Regions from separate parts of the Homo sapiens genome. Here region 2 is linked to region 1. The links are contacts of gene promoters, found by promoter capture Hi-C in blood cells and fetal thymus (Javierre and others, 2016). All regions are on one chromosome and are shown on one strand. The core of a region is centred on a gene start or on the middle of the fragment in contact, and the rest is flanking DNA. Distances in the headings are between cores, read along the strand shown. Region 1 holds the start of SPAG6 (sperm associated antigen 6). Region 2 overlaps DNAJC1 (DnaJ heat shock protein family (Hsp40) member C1).

Region 1 (4,513 bases), core at 1,283-3,782:
AGAGCAAGACTCTGTCTCAAAGAAAGAAAGAAAAGTTTTCATAACAAAGTTTACAGGTTCTTTTTTAATCAAAAGAATAAATACATTGAATATTCATTATGTCTGTATTTAAAATTGCTAAAGGAATGCTTGAATTGAATCTCGATAACATGAAATTTGTTAAAAATAAGTCCCTCAGGAAAAGAAACATTTTAGCATGCTACCCAGATATTAGTCAAGTGCAGAGAATTTCAAAACATAAAGTTATATTCCTTTCGTATTCATCTTTCCTAAGCCAGACCATAAGTGTAGAATCTTATATCTAAGCCACTTATACAGTCAATTTGGATTAAGTTCCATTGTGAAGTCTACATTGCACTCTTATGGGAGGAGCTAACCTGCCACTACTCACTAAAACATGATACTCCGTATCTTAAAAGTTATGTATACTTTAACATCTCAGTATTAAAATTTGAAAATAATATCAATTATTTTCCCATTTTAAAAGTTTTAGTTTGGCTATATTCATATTGTCCAGAAACTAAATCTTTGTTAAGTAGTAAATGTCCATTCACAAAGGTCATTGAGAGGGACTGAGAGAAAAAACTTTAAAAGTTTACACTTTAAAATTACTTTTAAATACACTTCTAAAATGTAACATGTTCTAATACCTTAGTCTGTGTTAGTCTGTGTATATGAAATACTGTGTGCCCAGTATTGTTCTGGGTACTTGGAGGAGTACGGGTGCATACACACACACAGAATACAGAAAATCAACCCATATAAAACAACTATAGAACAAAGGATTATCAATTCTGAAATGACAAAATTTTAGAAATGGAGAAGAGATTAGTGGTTGTCCAGGGTTAGGGATAGCAGGAGGTGTGTGTGGCTATAAAAGGGCAAGAGAGAGGATCCTTGTGACAATGAAAGTGTTCTGTATCTTGACTGTGCTGGTGGTGGATACGCACGGAATAAAATTCTATAGGACAAAACACACACACACACGAACAATTAAAAGGAGGAAACCTATATAAGATCAACGAATTTTTATCAATGTCAATGTCCTCCTTGTGATATTGCACTACAGTTTTGAAAAATGTTACCATTGGGGAAACTGAGAAAAGGGTACACGGGATCTCTCTGTATTATCCCTTACAGTTGTGAATCTACAATTATTTCAAACTAAAATGCGTTTAGAAGATTATAAAATATACTTTATTGTAAATACATGCCCCCCAATAAAAACACACAAGGAATAAATGCCAAAAATCCTAGTGACAAAACGAAGTATCACATAGGTGCAGTAGTAATTCCCCTCAAAGAAACCCAGAGTAATCATTACACTTAAGTATTCTTGCTGTCAACATGTTAATTGTTTAAATTATGTGTTAGTTTTAAAGATCACATCCTATAAACTGAAGATTTCTCATGACACAGTAGTGATAAAATGCTACCTTACAGTTCAGATGGTGGTAGAATCATCCAAAAAAAAAGAAGAAGAAAGAAGAAAGAAGAAAAGAAGAAGAAGAAGAGGAAGAAGAAGAAGAAAGAAGAAGAAGAAGAAGAAGAAGAAGAAGAAGAAGAAGAAGAAGAAGAAGAAGAAGAAGAAGAAGAACCATTTTCTCTTATCAGTTTATGTTATGAGATAAGAAGATCTCTCTCCCTCCCTCTCCCCCTCTCTCCCCCTCTCACATCTGCAAGAGTCCGGACTGAGGAGTAGAAGGAACGCGCCATAAGGATTTCGCAAAGTCTGGTCTCTACCTACTTGGAATTTCTTGGAAAAGATTCAAGCATATCATTCCCCTTTCACTAAAGCAAGACGAGAAATCACGTCTAAACCACTGGAATTGCTTTGCTGTGAGGAAGTCGAAGGTGATCAAAGGCAGGGTGGCATGCAAAATGGCACTTGGATAAAATGGGTCTCATTAGGGTAGAGTCCCATTCACGTAAAATGACTCCAGGCAATTCCTAGGGCCTCGACTTTCAACCTGACACTTGCCTGTGTGCAATGAAGATGGAAACAGGGACAACGCGCACCTCCCACAACCATCTGGAAGCTTCACCCTCTCGGCCTGACCCCCAAAGACCCGCTGAAAAGAATGGATGCTTTTGCGAACTCCGGTCCCCACACTGCGGCTCCCCAAGAGCTCCACGGGCAGGGCAGCGGGGCGGAGGCGTCGGGGACTCAGTGCGCGGGGGGCGACGGGGGTTCGGGCTCCGGGCTCACCCGCGTTCTGCAGCGTCTCGATGTTTTGGGGTCTAGTCGCCAGCTCCGCCACCATCTGCACGAACTGGGTCCTGGCCTTCTGGTATTGCTCGAACACTGCGGGAGAGAGAGTCGGTGGAGCCCACCGCACCCGGGTCTCCTCGGCGCCAGCTAGTTAGGGCACCTGCCCGCCTCGGCCCTACCTTGCAGCACCTGCCTCTGACTCATGGCGCCCCCGCCGCCGTCTGCCCTCCTCGAGCTCTGCGGGGAAGCCGCTCGGCCTGCGAGTCCACCAAGGGGGCGATCGTGGCGACGACTCGGCCTCCGACGGGAGCCGCTTCTCTGTGTACCCGCGTCTCCCGGGCAACCTACCGGAACCGGAACGCGGCCGTCTTGCTGCAACGGCCAGTCCCGGGCGTGACGTCACGGCCGCGGTGCCTGGGCGCACTGAGCGGGGCGGCGGCGCGAAGACGCCCGAGCTCGAGGACTCGGACTGCTGGGGCTCTCAGCGCGCCAGGCTCGCGGAGCCGCCGGGACATCGCGCGCCGTCGAGTATCCCTGCACTGCCCGGAGGTCGGAGCTCCTTACAAAGCGACCCCAGATTGCCGTGGTATCCTGACTGCGGCGCGGGTCGGGACCAAGCGCCGGGAGAGCCCCACGCGCCAAGGGAGCCTGGTTCGAGGGCAGCCAGACGAGTAAATTGCAGCCCTGGAGTTGTCTGAGCTTCGACGGTCCCGAGAAATCTCACACGTCACATTGTACAATCCGATCAACACATGAATGTCAATGCAACTTAAGTGTTGCATTGACATTTAACACTGCACTGACAGTAAAACACTGATTTAGGAATCCGTGTTTTCTTTTGTAACCCGCTGTTATATACCTGGCATTCCTGGTTTCAAGATTCCTGGAGGAGCATGACAACCATGTTCACACACTTAATTACACTGTATTGAAAGCATTTAATGAGCACTCAGAGACTCAGTGAGGAAAGCAGATGAGGAAAGGATGTGATGAATGTCCTGTCTTCCCTGGCTTTCTCCTAATGACTACTAATTTTGCTGTTTCCTCACTTTTATGTGATTTGTAAATATTTTGTCTTAGTCTTTTAAATTTAGGCTTCGTTATGTTGATGAATGACATCTCCAACAGAAAAAGAGAGAGAACCTTTACCTGGAAAACCAGACTTCCCTATCTTATATAACTTGAACCCTTTACCCAGTTTCTTTTAACAAAATTGAAGTACTTAGTCTATTACTGGTTTCTAGCTTGTCTTTGAAAACTATATACCAGTTGTTTCAATGACAGTTGTCAACTTTAAATGTTCCTCCATCAAAAACTACAATTTCACCAGATGTCAAGTGGATACATAGCCGCAGCTGCTGCTAAGTAGTGCCAAGACAGGAAACCCCTTGATATTTCTTCAACAGAAGGGAGCATGCAAACTTAACTGGTTCTATATTTGGAATGAGTCCTCTATATTTATCTTTGAGATCTCACCCTTCACTGAGCTCTTGATGAAGTCCTGATACTTTGTGGAGCTCCAAATAGTTGGGGAATGGTCCAGCAATCAGAGAGAAGAATAAGTGTGTTTAGTCGGGTCCCTAATACCCCCGAAGGGCAGGTACATGTCTTCTGCTTCTGCAGCTCAAAAGCCAGTGATGGCCACAATCTTTTTACTTAATTCAAAGTCGTAAGTTTTACAGTGATATCTATATTTCCCTATGGGAATATGTCCTTTAAAATTAAAGTTATGCGTTCCCATTTAGAGACGTGGGAGGAAACAGATTGAGTAAATAATTAAGATTGCAAATAAGCCTTGTAATTTTCAGTTCCTTGTTGAATGATGAAAAAAAATCCCCTTAAAAGTTTTTATATTTGGTTTCAGTCCTTAAACAAACAATTCAAACTCTTAAGCTACTCCAACTGCCATTTTTAGCAACTGCTTTACTATTTGTTTTCCATTTTAAAAGTGTTAAGAGCTCAATAGAGGGGGAGAGGTCTAAACCTATAAACATAACACAGTATGGGATGCTACTAAGTTCTTTGAAAACATACGTTCAAAAGCTATGTAAATTACTTTAGAGTCTGAGTATCTGTTATTAACAATATCTTTTAGTTAAATTGTATTATTCCTGATAAAACATAATATAGGATGCCTACTTCATATCTGAAATTGGACATATTAAAGAAGCTTGATCTTTGCTCTTTATTTTAGGTTCCTTCTTAAAAAAATCTTAAAAACTAAATGGAGAAATGTATGTAACACAGAGTGATTACAATATGCATATAAGTGAAATTATTAGTAATTCAAGCATAAAATAT
Region 2 (4,443 bases), core at 1,154-3,653, 360 kb after region 1:
AGATATAAATGGAGTCATATAATATTTGCCCTTTTGTGTCTGGCTTATTTCACTTGTCTTCATAATGTCTTCAGGTTTCATTCATGTTGTAGTATATCTCAAATTTTCATTCTTTTTTAAGGCTGAATAATATTCCATTGCGTGTATATACCACTTTTATTTATCCGTTTATCTATTTTTGGACATTTAGGTTTTCAGCTTTGGCTATTGTGAATAATGCTGCTATGACCATTGGTATACAAGTATCTGTTTGAGCCCCTGCTTTCAATTCTTTTAGGTATATACCTAGAGGAAGAATTGCTGGATCATATAGTAATTCTATATTTAACTTCCTTTGTTTTTGAGACAGAGTCTTCCTCTCTTGCCCAGGCTGGAGTTGAGTGGCATGATCATAACTTGCTGCAGCCCCAAACTCCCAGGCTCAAGCAGTCCTCCTGCCTCAGACTCCCAAGTAGCTGGGATTATAGATGTGCGCCATCATGCCTGGCTAATTTTTTAAAAAAATTTTTGTAGAGAAAGGGTCACAATTTGTTGCCCAGGCAGTATTTAACTTTTTGAGGAACCACCAAATTGTTTTTCATAGCTGCTGTGCCATTTTACATTCCTACCAGCAATGTACAAGAGTTCTAATTTCTCCACATCCTCGTCAGTACTTAGTTTTTACTTTTTTTTTTTTTTTATGATAGCTATCCTAATAGGTGAGAGGTAGTAACTGTTGTGGTTTTGATTTGCATTTCCCTAGTGACTACTGTTATTGAGCATCTTTTCATGTGGGTTATTGGTCATTTGTCTTCTTTGGTGAAATGTCTGTTGAAGTCCTTTGTCCACTTTTAATTGGATTTTTTTGTTGTTGGTTGTAGGAGTTATTCATATATTCTGGATATTAATCTATCAGATATATAATTAGCAAATATTTTCTCCCATTCTGTGGGTTGTTTATTTACTCTCTTACTAGTGTCCTTTGATGCACAAAAGGTTTTCATTTTGATGAGGTCCAATTTATTATTTTTTTCTTTTTTTTGCCTGTACCTCTGTCATATCAAAAAATCATCACCAAATCTAATATCATGAAGTTTTTTCCCATATATTTTCTTCTAAGAGTTGTATAGTTTTAACTCCTATGTTAGTCCTTGATCTATTTTTAAGTCAATTTATATATATGATGTGAGGCGTCAAAGAAAAGTAGAGCCTGACAGTAGTTAAAGCAGTAAAAGCAAATTTTAATCAGGAACAGTTGCAGTAGGAGAAAAGAGACTTCGTTACAGAATGAAGCTTAATTCTGAATACAACATGGAAAGTGGAGATTTATAGCCAAGGAACAGGGTCAGTGGATGGAAGATTAGAGGAAACATCAGAGTTAAGGGGGTCTCTGGTGAAACCAATTTGACAAGGTTTTTGCCAAAGGCAGGCCAAGGTAATCAGGTATCGCCTGGGGGTTGGTGGGGAATGAGGAATTTGGTCAGATATATTGAGGGTGATCGGATATCAATGGTAGGGTTTCTGGCTTAACTCTCTTAGCAGAATTCTTGCTAAAATTGGACGATGCAAAGGAGGAGATAGAAGTTCAAAGGTTGAGGCCTAGCTGTGAAGATGGTTTAGAGGAGCCTGACTAGAGTTTAGTCAAGGAGACAGTCTTTGTTAAAGGTAAGGGTTCAATTTTATTCTTTTGCATGCAGATATCCAGTTTTCCTGGCACCGTCTGCTGAAAAGGCTGTTTTTGAATACACATATTATCTCATGTAATCTTTAAAACAGCCCTACTTAGTAAGGCATTTTTTCCCCATTTTACAAATGAGGAAATTGAATTTCAGAGACTTGCCCAGTCTCAGAAAACTAACAACTTGTGGAGCTTATCTGTTAGGCTCAAAGATCATAACTGTTATTTTGTAATTGTTTCTTACTATTTAAATGTTACCTATTCTTAAAGGCCCAGCCCAAATTTAATCCCATTATTAAAGATTTTCTCCATTGCTTGCTCTTCCAATCAGATATGACTGCTCTCAATTCCATGGCAAATTTTTAATAGATTCTTAATTTATAGTACACCGCAAATGGTATGTGCTGAATACATGCCAAGTGAGTAAATGATAGAATTATCATTCAGAATAATCTAACTGGTCTCCATACCATCGTAAACTATGAGTTGAAAGGATGGAAGTAATCAGGGAAAAATGTAATTCTACATTTTGCTTGAGAAAATCATTTGCACAAATATAAAACGGGGAGATCTGGTTTGACTTCAGTAAAGATGAACACTCAGGTTTTAGTTGTTTACATGCTGAATTAGGCCAACAGCATTATGCATCTGCTTTTAAAATTCAACTCTAATTTGCATTAATAAACATAGAAACAGAGAGTGACTTGATCACAGAAAATGAGAAATTTAATGCAATCTCCATCAATGTATTATAAACACTCCTGGTACCACACTTAAGGAGGAATATTAACAAACTGAATTTTTTTTTAAGGGGAGCTACAAATACAGTAGGGTTTCTGGGAATCTTGCCCAAAAAGAAGAACACATTTAGTCTGAAAAGGAAAGGCTAAGGAAATATGTGATCACTGACTTCAAATATTAGACTTAAGAAATATATTTTAAAACTTTTTATGTATAATTTTTCATTTTGAAATAATTTTAGGCTTAACAAAAGGTGGCAAAAATAATACAGTTCTCATATACCTTTCACCTGGCTTTCTCAGATGTAACCTTAATAAATTGATAAAAACCAGGACATTAACACTGTTACAGTGTTATCTACAGATGTTATTCAGATTTTCCAGCTGTCCCATTAACATCCTTTTCCTGGTGCAGAATCACACATTTAGTTGTTTTATCTCATTTATGTCCACTCTGGGACAGTTCCTCAGTCTTTCTTGACCTTGACACTTTTGGAGAATATTGGACAGTTATATTTTAAAGTGTCCCACAGTTTGGGTTTGTCTAATATTTCCTCATGATTAAATTCAAACTATGCATGTTTGTTATAAATACTATGGAAGTGGTGTGCCCTTTTCAGTGTATTGTATCAGGAGGCACATGATATCCATATATCTCATCACAGATGATGTTAACTTTGATCATTTGGTTAAGTGTCTGCCAGGTTTCTCCACCGTAAAATTACTATTTTCTCTTTGTTAATTTCTTTGTAGGAAATTACTTCTTAATGGACAGAACTAGGAAATATATGTGTGTATATGTGTATATAGTTTGTTCAATATCTGGATTTTGTGCCTGTTTTTGTTCACTGCCATTTCTAGCACTTGTTTAGCCCTGTGGTCAGTAGATATTTGTAGCTAATAATATAGAATAGTGTAAAGTTAGACTAGATAACCTAAGGACTTTCCAGCCCCGCAACTCTGTTAATGTTTTGATTCTGGAAAAATAAGCTGGGGAACAAGACAAAAATAAACTCTGAACAGGATTCATAATAAGCAGAATGCAAAAGTCATAGGACTTTTGACTGCAAAAGTCATAGGAGCAGACATATGCAGTTTTGACATATGACTGCAAAAGTCATAGGAGCAGAAAGCTTTGATTATTATCAAAAACAATGAAGGTGTCAAAGGCCTGGAACAAAGTTTGCTGTGGGTAGGTAAGAAAGAGAAGCTTGATAATCGTTTTATCCATTGTACCTTAGCCGGATTGACTTGCAGAAGGTAAAGCCATGGTGAAAAAAAAAAAAAGAAAAATTATAAATAAGGATATCTCCTTTACAGGTATTCTGTCTTTAGTTTACTTTCCATTATTTCTTACTTTATCCAGGTAGACCAGATCCAAGTACATGTATTCCCACTGTAAAACCATATATGGCTTCATATTCTGCAAAGTCACACCCTAAAAATAACAGTACCTATGGGAAAAATAGGGTTGAGGTACAGCGTTCAAAATCTGTGGAACCTTATAAGCACTCATGAAAATAATAATACTTTAAAAAATCAATTAAATCTCCTCTAGCATTTTAACCTGGCATCATAGTTCTTAAAATCCTTTAAACCCTTGTTCTCATGCTTCCTTATTTGGGATATAGATTCTTTAGATCAGTTGAATAAAAATACATATGATTCAGATAAGAGCCCTTTTGAAAATGAAGGAAATGTCTTTGCAGCTTCTTGAGCTGCACTCAGAGATTGATCAGATAGCTTTACATAGTAGAAACCATAGAAGTTCTTGAAGCCACAAAACCAGCTACTACTTATATTAATAGAAGGCACGTCTAATAGATTTCTAGCTGGTTTTTTTTAAAAGATCTTCATATTTTACTAAGGTTTTGTCTTTAATTGCAAGAAAACTTATCTTGGATCATTAAAAAAAAATGAATGTGCCAGGGGAAAAAAAAATCAAGTCGAACTTACATACCTAACTCTGCATTATAAGAATATCATTCCGCTGTTTACTAATTGTATATAAGATCATTCAAATTAAAAAAGTCATAGAGGTAATTA

The links. The method cuts DNA at HindIII sites, captures the fragments that hold promoters and counts their contacts. A CHiCAGO score of 5 or more calls a contact.
Region 2: a contact is called between a fragment that was not itself captured here and the fragment with the promoter of SPAG6 in region 1, in 1 of 17 cell types (erythroblasts). The highest score is 5.5, in erythroblasts.

What each region holds. Positions count from the first base shown.
Region 1 is chr10:22,343,515-22,348,027 of GRCh38, reverse strand. It overlaps SPAG6 (sperm associated antigen 6), which reads right to left and starts at 2,532. Exons shown (of 11, transcript NM_012443.4): 1 at 2,392-2,532; 2 at 2,210-2,305. The coding sequence starts at 2,416. RefSeq lists enhancers at 1,687-2,503, 2,464-2,683. The HindIII fragment of the contact is 2,343 bases long and covers 2,042-4,384 here.
Region 2 is chr10:21,978,954-21,983,396 of GRCh38, reverse strand. The region is part of intron 1 of DNAJC1 (DnaJ heat shock protein family (Hsp40) member C1); the gene reads left to right. Among named protein-coding and RNA genes, the nearest start is that of DNAJC1, 23 kb to the left of the region's middle. The HindIII fragment of the contact is 2,258 bases long and covers 1,275-3,532 here.